Linked DNA regions of Homo sapiens: regions 1 and 3 are each linked to region 2. Evidence: promoter capture Hi-C in human tissues and cell types (Jung and others, 2019). All regions are on one chromosome and are shown on one strand. The core of a region is centred on a gene start or on the middle of the fragment in contact, and the rest is flanking DNA. Distances in the headings are between cores, read along the strand shown. Region 1 has its middle 8.3 kb from the start of GPM6A. Region 2 holds the start of SPCS3 (signal peptidase complex subunit 3). Region 3 has its middle 83 kb from the start of GPM6A.

Region 1 (3,312 bases), core at 813-3,312, 500 kb before region 2:
TCAAGGGTGACACTCTTTGGGCCAAACTTACCCTTTTATAGAAAGATCAGTTCTAAGTACTTATGCATTCCTATAACCATAAAGGTGATCCAAATTTTAAAACTTCTAAATAGTTTTGTTTTCTCCAAAATGCCAGAAAGCAAGAGTAATCCAAATCTCTTTCTGGTAATTATGTTTCCCATAAAACATGGCAGAAAGCATGAGGGGTTAAAAACTATGCAATGGGTAAGCAGCAGTGGCCTCTGTTTACTCAAAATCCAAACACTACTACTAATTGAGAAAGAGATCACAAAAATTGGCCCAAGCTGATTCTCTGTGGTCACAAAAATTCTACTTTAAATTGAGCTCACCAAAGAATAAACTTTATAGCTCACTCTGTCACTCAAGTTGCATTTACTCAATGACTACTAGGTATCTGAAGCTGAGCCAGGTGAACAGGACAGATGTAGTTTCCTGCTCTAACAGAGCTAATAGCAAAGATGGAAGAGAGAGACAAACAATTGGAACAAAGTATGATAGGTGCAATTATATTAATATTAATGACAATTATACTCAGCACTTCACATGTGTGAGGCATTGTTCTAAGTTTCTAAAAAGTGTATATCCCATTTAACCTTCACCACAACAGCCCTGTCAGGTAATTACTATTGTCCCCATTTTGATAGAGGAGGAAATCGAAACAAAAAGATTAAATTCTTTGTAGCAAGTAACAGGGTGGGGAAGATGGGATTTAAACATAGGCATTCTGACCCCAAAGCCCATTCTTTGAACCACCTGGATATCCGCCTACACTTATGTAAGTAGTAGACCCAAAGGCATTTAATGTAGGAAAAGGCCCTGATTGTAAAGTCTTCTCACAACATGAATATTTGTATTCATCCAAAAACAAAAACATTTAACTGCTTCCCATATGCCCAACATGTTGCCAGATGCTGTGAGAGACACACAAAAAAGTTGAAGAAATGATTCTCATACTCAAAGAACTTACGATTGAAGTTAAAAATATTAATACTCAGTTTAAACAGCAATAAATCAACAAAAGTGTGATTTCAGAGTAAAACTACTATAGGGAGTTGAAGTAGAGAACGTTCTTTAAGATTTCTAATATGCTTGATAGCTTTCGTCAACAAATGCAATTATCATCTAAGCGGTTTAGCAGAAATATGGAGACTTTTACTCAGTGGACGTATCTCTGATCTTCAAACTCTATTCAGTGCCACAATTTAGCCATTAGGACTTTATGCACAGTTATTATTCCTTCTTATTTTCTTTTTTTAAATTAGCTCTTGAGACCAAAATAATAAACACTTGTACTACCACCCAACATAGAAAATAAAGTATAAAGTCGATTATACGTGTTCTCTAACTGCATTCCTTTCCTTATATCTTCTTCAGCCCTACCTCCTGTTAATAATCACTCAGGACTGGAGAGTTTTTATTCCTGTATGTTGTCCTTATTATTTAATATGTGTGTGCATGCATATGTGTGTCTGTGTGTATACAGATATATATACACACCATAGTTAGTATTGTTTTGTAGGTTTTCTTTTTTCTTTTCTTTCTTTTTTTTTTTTTTTTTTGAGATGGAGTCTTGCTCTGTTGCCCAGGCTGGAGTGCAGTGGTGCAATCTCTGCTCACTGCAACCTCCCCTTCCCGGGTTCAAGTGATTCTCCTGCCTCAGCCTCCCAAGTACTGGGATTACAGGCATGCGCCACCACGCCCAGCTAATTTTTATATTTTCAGTAGTGACAGGGTTTCACCATGTTGGCCGGCTGGTCTCAAACTTCTGACCTCAAGTGATCCACCTACCTCAGCCTCCCAAAGTGCTGGGATTACAGGCATGAGCCACCACACCCGGCCTGTTTTGTAGGTTTTGATTAGATATCAAGAATATCTTCTTATATGTCTCTTTTCGCAACTTCTTCCTCAATCTTTTAATGTATATGCGGATCTGTTGATAAACATTTAATATTGTTTCTAATTTCTAAACAACTGTAAAAAATTACAATGAATATTTTTATATATGTTTAGTGCATACATTTAAAATTTTCCCTACAAGTCTGAGGTGTATGTATGTGTGGAATCATTGGGTAGGAGATTATGTATGTCTTCAATAATATGTGTGTTAAAAAGCCCTTCAAAGTGCTTGTGCCAATTTAAATTTCCCTAAGAACTATCTGAGAATCCTACTGTTCTACGTCTTCTATACTTAGTAATTTTTAAATGTTACCAAAGATAAATCTTTTAATTTACATGAGTATTAATTATATATCTTAATATGATTTCCTTAAGTATCTCATAAAGTTGAGAACATTTTCTTGCAATTAGCCAATGATTTTCCTCTTTTGAGAAATGTATATTCATGCCCTTCACTCATTTGCCCACAGTATTGTTTGCTTTTTGGTATTATTCTATAGATGTTATTTGTAAGTTCTGAATACTAATTCCATAGCAATTAAATGTCTAACATATATATTTTTACAGTGCCTTAGTTAATCTTGGTTTTTGGTCATCTATATATATTTTAGAATCAGCTTTCAAATATAATGAGGGGGAGGTGAACTTATATTTATTGAACTTAAATTAACTTCATAGATTAATGAGACATAATTAACATTTTTACAAAATTGAATCTCTTTCCATGAACATGAGATCTCTTTCCATATGTTGAGAACTTTTTTTCATATATTTTAAGAATGTTTTAAAATGTTCTCCCTAGGAGCTTTGCATATTTTTTTTTGTTTTTATTCCTAAGTATTTTGATTTCTTTTAGAGGTATTTTATACTAAATCTCTCAAGACTTTTTTTGACTGAAGCAAAGGAACACATTATTGGATTTTAAAAATCAGTCCTATAAGAAGCAAATTTGCTAAACTCTCCTATAGTTCTAATAATGCATAGGTCTTGAAATTTCTATGTAGAAATTCACATATTTGAATTAAAACAAATATGAGTCTAACTGTCCAATCTATATATTTTAATTTATTTCCTCTGTTTTACTGTGCATTCTAGGGTCCCCAACACAGTGTTGAATTGAGCAGTGATTTTAAAAGAAATGATTCTATGGTTTCATTATTATGTGTTATTTGTAGTAGGTTTGCATAGACATTTTTTATCTGTTTAAATAAGTTCCCTTCTAGTACACATTTCTGAGGTTCATTTATTATAAAGTATTGAATCAGAAAAAATGTTTTATTCTCCATCAAGTAAGATGATTATACAAATTGCATCCATTTATATATTAAAGTAAGAATTGCATTTGTAGATTTTCTGATGTTAAACTCTGTTTGCATTCCCAAACAGAGAATTGGT
Region 2 (3,650 bases), core at 977-3,476:
AAAGATATCAGTTGTCCCCATCTGACTGAATATCATGTTGGAAATATTAGCTACTGAAATGAATAAACAATTGGAAATATAATAATTGGAACGGAAAAGGCAAAATGATATCTAATGTAGGTGATATAAATGTCTAGAAAATCTAAAGAAACACTTGGAAAAATAAAACAGAATAAGAAAATTCCCTATCCCATCCCTCTCCTGCTCTTTTTGTGGACTTTTATGTGTTTTTAGCACTACCAGTAAGTCAAGTTAAAAACTGTGGTGTCATAATAATAATACTAGTTTCATTTGAGTGTTCACAATCTGCATTCACTCTATGCTTTGCAGACCCCCACTCTTATTTAGGCAGTTGCTAAGTAACATAGAGTTTGTTTCCGAAATGCCCCTCCTATCAGTCTTCCTTTTGGGTCCATCACTCACTCTCCACATATAACTGGTAAATGGTTGCCTGTGTAGCGATGCTTGTTTTACATGTAATTTCCCTGATATAAAGTCAACTTCTTGACCTGGTTTTCTACCATAACTTACCTTTCCAGGCTTATTTCTGCTTACTCTTTTATACATGCATTGTTTATCAGGACCAGCCTTCTGAGTATCTCTTAGATATACCTGTACTTGCAGTTCAACAACAAGAATTATTTCCCTAAAACATGCTATAATAATAATGTGTCTTGTTTAGGCTTTGTGTTAAATAATTTGCACACTGTGTTGTCCCACATTACCAGGGCTGTAATTCCTTCCTCCTTTGCTATGTAACTTCCCAGGGTATTTTTTTGTTTTACATTTCAGATTTGTTTTTATTTTATTAACTCTACCTGATTATATACTTTTGAGTGTAGAAAGTGATCAGTACAATCTCTGTATCACTTGCAGTATAGATGGCATTCAATAAAAATCCTTTTTTTTCTTTTTTTGTTAACAAACTGTGCCAGCCTGGAAGTTAAAAACTAAGATTTTAAACGCAACTAAGGATCTCTCTTTAGTCTCTATTTTATCGATTTTTCATTAGTTGGCTCTATTTGAGCAGGGAGTCTGCCTTATTAGTGCTGTATTCTCAAGGCTTAGAACTATTCCTGGTACACGGTAGGCACTTGGTAATAATCCTACCTGTATGGCTATACAAAAATTAATTGAATGGTCATGAATAATGCAAAGAAGCAAAAGCTTAACAAGAGACAACATAAGCCAGTATCAAGATCAGATGTTCACAGTTTTCTGGTTTGTTCCTGATCACATTCCAGGACAGATATTTTTGTTTGGTTTATGGACTGAAATTTTTAAAAAAAATTTATTTCAGCAGACCCTGAATCCATTTTTATAAAAACCCTTAGCTGTGAAAGGAACAAAGGTTTTGGCAGATAGTATAATCAGAGTCAGGATTGGCTCGGTTTGAACCCTAATGCCCTTCAGGATATTGAAAATGTGATAAAATAATTGCATTATTTATTAATGACCCAACGAAATTCTTATACATTATGCTGTAGAGCAATTCCGCAGCCATTATCTTCTTTGCTCCTAAGAACCCAGAAAGGTTATCCTTTTATTTATCAGAAATCACCATGTTAAAATGCAAATACTTAGGATCGGTAGCCTCAACCCTTATCTTCTAAAACATCTTTAGCTATCCATACAAAGCAAAGCATTAATAGGAATTGGACTGACGTTGGAGGTGGAAATACTGATGCACGTGACAGCTTTAAGGACTTGGGCGGCTAATTCCCCACTCCCCACTGCTCCTCAGATCCTCCAAAAAAAGCTCAAGTCCTAACTTTGACCAGGTTTGACAAAGAAGGGAGAGGACCAGGCGTTTTGTAAAGTGCTGCTTCCAAACGCCACCCGTCAGGACAGATTCTAAACCACCTTAACTTGCTGCCGGTTTCAAGTGAAAATAAATGGTACATAAGTAATCAAGAAGTCGCAGTCCCAGACCTCTGACCAAAGAACCGAAAAAGGACAGCGAACGACCGGTTCCCAATTCTCTGAACCCAAAGGTCGGAGAAGCAATTTAGAAGAGGAGGGGGTGGGTCTTCCACAACAAACCCCGCCCCTCCCTCACTCGTCGCTGATTGGTGGCGGCGTTAGGCCGCGACGGAGGGGCGGGCCCGCGGCTGAGTCTCTCCCTTTCCGCGCCGCCCCGTGCGCGCTGTGGGTGTGTTTCGGGAAGCGGGCGCGCGCGCGCTCGCGTCGGAGGACCGGAAAGGAGGCGGGGCTGCGGCGGCGCGCGCTCCCGGAACGCGCGCACCGCAGACGGCGCGGATCGCAGGGAGCCGGTCCGCCGCCGGAACGGGAGCCTGGGTGTGCGTGTGGAGTCCGGACTCGTGGGAGACGATCGCGATGAACACGGTGCTGTCGCGGGCGAACTCACTGTTCGCCTTCTCGCTGAGCGTGATGGCGGCGCTCACCTTCGGCTGCTTCATCACCACCGCCTTCAAAGACAGGAGCGTCCCGGTGCGGCTGCACGTCTCGCGGATCATGCTGTGAGTGAGGCCGGGCCGGCGGTGCAGGACGCCGGGACCGGGCTGGGGCGGAAGCCGAAGCCGGGCCGCCGCGCCGGGGCTGCCGTGCCGGGGCCGCGGGCAGGGCGTCCGGATCGCCCTCCTGAGCGGCAGTTCGCCCCCGAGGGCGGTCGTCAGGGGTGGACGTCGCAGGCTTTTCCGGCGTCCCCTCGGAACTTGCACCCCTCCACCGTAAATTCCCGGGCTTGCTCTTAAATTTTAATTTTGAGCGTTCCTCAGGTCGGTGCCTCCGCTTGCTTCCTGTTCCTCACTTCCCTCCACCCACGCCTGGCCAATGAGGGAGCAACACAACAGCAGAGCCGGCGCCGCCGCCCGCCTGGGCTGGCGCCTCCCGCGCGTCCGGTGCCGCTCGTGGTCCGCATGCGAGGCCCTCCAGGCGCTGCCGCCGCGCTCTGGGTCGGGCTTCCGTGGGGTTTCCTGGCGGCTCTGGAGGCCACAGGACGGGGTTGTCTTTGTGTCATTCATCACCCGAGTTTGCCCTGTTTGACATTCCCTTTACAGTTGTTGCCTTTGCACCTTCAGAAGGCAGTAAACAGTTGGAGCTGCTTTGAAGTTGGCCAGAGATGTTGGGCACTGAGAGAATTAAGCATCTTAGCCTTCTGATACAGCGAGATTTTTGTTTTGTTGGGTTTCTTTATTTCTTTTTCTTTTGCCAACCACTTGAAGAAGTCTGCGAAAACGCCAAAAAATGCAGTTCGAAATGACAGTGCCATTTCGCTATTGCCTATTTTGTCCTTGATTTTATTCTCTGGCACTTTTGTCTTTAATCGTCGTATTTTTCCATCTCTTGTTCTCATACCCTTCTACTCTATTTCCGTCTTACACAAGTTCTTTAACCTTAGTTTATTTCTTTGTCAGAATCGCCAAGAAGCCAGTTATCAAATAGCGAGCCTTCTCCCCCCACCTTTTTTTTTTTTTTTTAAATTACTGTACTGATGTTTGTTAGATATTGTTCGAATAGACCTGGGGTGGACATCAGCACTGCCATTGTCAGCCCTGTGAGGGTTAGAAGAGCTTGGTGCATATTAAACACTGAACAGATGTTAGCTGTTGTTGTCTTGAGCAAGTTTTCTTACCATTCTGGGCCTTAATTTCTTTTTGTTTAAGATGGAAGTAATACCTAATTTTTAG
Region 3 (3,513 bases), core at 536-3,035, 420 kb before region 2:
CTTCCTAAGTAAAAACAGAAGTTCACTGAAGAATATAAGTTTATTCTAGGAATGTGTAGTCTAAGATAACCTGATATCTATCAACTCATCTCTTTGTAGGACATGAAGGTGCTAAAACTCGGTAAGAAAAAGCGATATAAATTAATTAACAAAATGATATAAAATATAATGATCAACATTTGAGAGAGCTGCACACCTCACATTCTATCTCTGAGATCATTCCTGTTGAAATGGATTGGTCAAAAATCCAATCCTTAAAAAAGACAGAGATTAAAAATAAATTAATCTCTTATTTCAGAGACCCCTTAACTCCTACTTCTGAGAATACTGTTGTCTCAGTGTGGCTGATAATTTCACAAGTGCTTTATCCACCTTCTTTGTTGATCTTAAAACTGAGATGGCAGATATAATTGGAAAACAGAAGATAAGATAGCAGACCGTCCTCATGTTAGAATTACATTTTTTTTTAGTTCTTTGAAGATACTTTTGCTCAGAAAAAAAAGGAAAAGTGATAGACCAAATTAAGTGTTCTCAGCAACTACTAAGTCCAAGTGGGAAATCATCTATATCTAATCTATAGGAAGATACTTCTGTATATAGCGAAAAAGCGAGGAAGGGGTGCTAAAGAACAATTGCTCTGCCTTAGCTCGAAAGACAGAGTCACAAAATATAAAAGACTAACTCTGTCTGATAGAGTGACTCCCCTCTGAGGAAATAGCTGCTCCATTCTGCCCACAATTGCTTTTCATGAAAAGAAAGAGATTTTTATGCATGCAAAAAGAGTGTGTTCCATGGTTAATAATGTCTTCCAGTTAATAATGAGACTACATTTTCTACCCTTCTACCTTTCATCATTCCTAATCCAGAGTAACCTGCACAAACAACAAGAATACAAGGATTTTAATGTTAGTAGTATATATTTTTAATAGTAAAACCACAGAAACCCCTCAAAAATCTGTCAAAAGGGGAGTGGCTAAATCATTTTGGCTAATTAATTTCAAACACACTCTAGTATCATTTAGGAGGAAAACTCATACACAAAATATTATACAAAGAATACATGACCCCATTTTCTTATATAAGGGTCTTCGAAGTTCAAAAAGAGATTAAGTATCACATCATGCATCTACTAAGTGGCAGGTCCAAGTTTTAAACCCATTCTCTGTTTCTAAAAGTCAAAACACTATTACTGTAACACACTGCTTCCCAAATCAGTATACAGCATTGATAAGACATGTTACAACTGGTGTCTTACCATCCCTTTTTTTACTGTGTTACTTTGTGTTTCAGGGGACCCAGAATGCGATAGAGTGAGAAACCATGAATCAGTGAACTTTAAAGCAAACTCAAATACTTAAAGGCAAAACAAAATCTTCTTTGATCTTTAGAATGAAATCATCTTGTGATTCAGTATGCCAGTGAATGACTTGAGATGCCACCAGTGTAGCCAACTTGCTTTTAAATATGTGATCCATTTTGCTCTGTTTGGTAAGCTTCTATAAGGGCTGGAATAAACTAAATGACTCCATTTGGTTGCTATAAAGAATACGTGATTCAAAATCCTATTTATATTTTTCTCAGAATAAATTTAGGTTAATTTCAATTAAAGTAATACTGATATAAACAATGCATCCTATCTTTTCAAAAAAAATGGTGAATAAGTTAACTTTTCTTATTGCCAATTGGAAAAAACTAAGAACTTGGAAGGTAACTAACATTTCAAAAGTGTTACATGTTCTTTGCAGAAAATTTTGAAAACACAGATGAGGAAAAATAATATCTACAGGTATGTATATCACCAAGAGATATATAGTTACTAATAAATTTAAACAGATGACATGTTATGAACAAGTTAAAATTCCAAATCAACCTATTAATATAGTAACAGTAGGATATTGGTAAAGTCTCAACTGTAGAAGATACAATTAATCAATGTCACAAGTACTTAATAACATAGAAATTGTTGAAAATGGAATATTTATTTGGTTTGCAATATTTTCCAAATTCTGTATTAAGTATACTGTATATGATGTATGGGTATAATAGTGCATTTTTTGTAATTACCTCAAGTTAAAATATTTCCTAACAGCTTTTTTAGTAACTCTTCATAATCATACCTTGGCATAAACCCTGAAATATTTGATCTACTTTGTTTTTTATTTTATTATGTTTTCTATTACATTGGCTTTTATTAATCCTGAATCTCTCCATCTGTGGCCTTTTCCTATGACCTTTACTAAGCAAAGTTGCTGTTAACATCTGGTTGTTAAAATATAATTTGTAGTAGCTTTGTAAATAAAAAAGCGTGAACCACATATTATTACTTTTGCAAAGGATTTATAAATATGAGTCAGTAAACTCACTAGTTTCCATCCTGGAAGAGTGGCAGGAAATTAGACTTTTATCTTTTGGGGAAGCTTTACATTTCAGGATGATGAAGTCTCAGGGGGTTTTGGGGGACTCAAGGTAGATGGTAAGATCCCACATCGTTCTGCTTTGGTGACCACAGACACTTAGCCCAATCCATATAGTTCCTCAGGCCACAAAGTTCTGGGGTCTCTATGACAAACTTTTTAGGGTCACAGGTACCTAGCATCCTGCCTCCCTAAATGCACCAGAAAATTATCCTCAGATCATTCAACCTGCTCGGGGAGGTGCCTGGGATTCTGATGTGAGTTCAGCTATTCCTGAGATCCAGACATGTCTGCCCCCTTTGAAGCCTTAAGCCTTGATCTGACTCTTCAAAAGCCTTATTACTTCAAATTCTGTCTTCACTCTACCCCAGTTATGGACCCAACACTATTTCTTTAAAGAGTTTAAGAAAATTCAAAAAGCCTTTAACTCCAAAAGGCTTCTGTTTCTGTTTTCTGCTTCTGTTTCTGTCTTCTGCTTCTGTTTTCTGCCTTGCAAAAATCTCCCCATTAGATAGGCACCACAGGCCCTGTCTATCTTCTTGGGGTGGGGGCAGGAGACAGGGTAGAATCTGGGGAGAAATACATAAAATAATATCTTAGTAAAGCAACTTGCCATCACATTTGTTATTCAAGGCCATATTCTGTGTTAGTCAATGAAAAGACATTGATGTTTGACAGGACTTTTGGTTCATTTGTTTGTTTCAAATCACCCAGAAATCCTCTTCTTTGAGGTGGCATCTTTCATTTGAATAGTGTATCAGGGAAAATTATTATATTCACTGAAAATGTTTAATTCAAGATGATTAACTCAAGCACTTAAAGATCTCGTTTGCCTCATGAATCAGTCAGGGCCCAACATAGAAAACAAAAAGCATTCTAAGCATTTAAATCAAAAAAGTTAATACAGGGAATAAGATGAATAGGGGACAGAAGAGCCAAGAAGCCACATAGAAGACAGGGAGACATCCTCGGGATTAGGAAATGTAGGAAGCTGGTGTCCAGCCTGGGCTGGAGGGAGGAGGTGATGCTTGTGGTGTCCAGGGTCAGTGCAAGTGGCTGAAACCAGGATGGGCTTACATTGGAAGCTAGAGCCTCAGAG

Evidence for each region. The method cuts DNA at HindIII sites, captures the fragments that hold promoters and counts their contacts. A contact is called where the count stands out against the background at its distance.
Region 1: a contact is called between a fragment that was not itself captured here and the fragment with the promoter of SPCS3 in region 2, in 1 of the 25 tissues and cell types used here (dorsolateral prefrontal cortex).
Region 3: a contact is called between a fragment that was not itself captured here and the fragment with the promoter of SPCS3 in region 2, in 1 of the 25 tissues and cell types used here (dorsolateral prefrontal cortex).

Annotation. Positions count from the first base shown.
Region 1 is chr4:175,818,939-175,822,250 of GRCh38, forward strand. It overlaps a transcript of GPM6A not described here. Among named protein-coding and RNA genes, the nearest start is that of GPM6A, 8.3 kb to the left of the region's middle. The HindIII fragment of the contact is 7,955 bases long and covers 1-3,312 here.
Region 2 is chr4:176,317,740-176,321,389 of GRCh38, forward strand. SPCS3 (signal peptidase complex subunit 3) reads left to right here and starts at 2,227. Exons shown (of 5, transcript NM_021928.4): 1 at 2,227-2,480. The coding sequence starts at 2,338. It overlaps SPCS3-AS1 (SPCS3 antisense RNA 1), which reads right to left and starts at 2,771. Exons shown (of 4, transcript NR_186171.1): 1 at 2,406-2,771. RefSeq lists an enhancer at 2,038-2,538 and silencers at 2,521-2,640, 2,761-2,830, 2,861-2,940. The HindIII fragment of the contact is 9,129 bases long and covers 1-3,650 here.
Region 3 is chr4:175,893,756-175,897,268 of GRCh38, forward strand. It overlaps a transcript of GPM6A not described here. Among named protein-coding and RNA genes, the nearest start is that of GPM6A, 83 kb to the left of the region's middle. The HindIII fragment of the contact is 4,982 bases long and covers 1-3,513 here.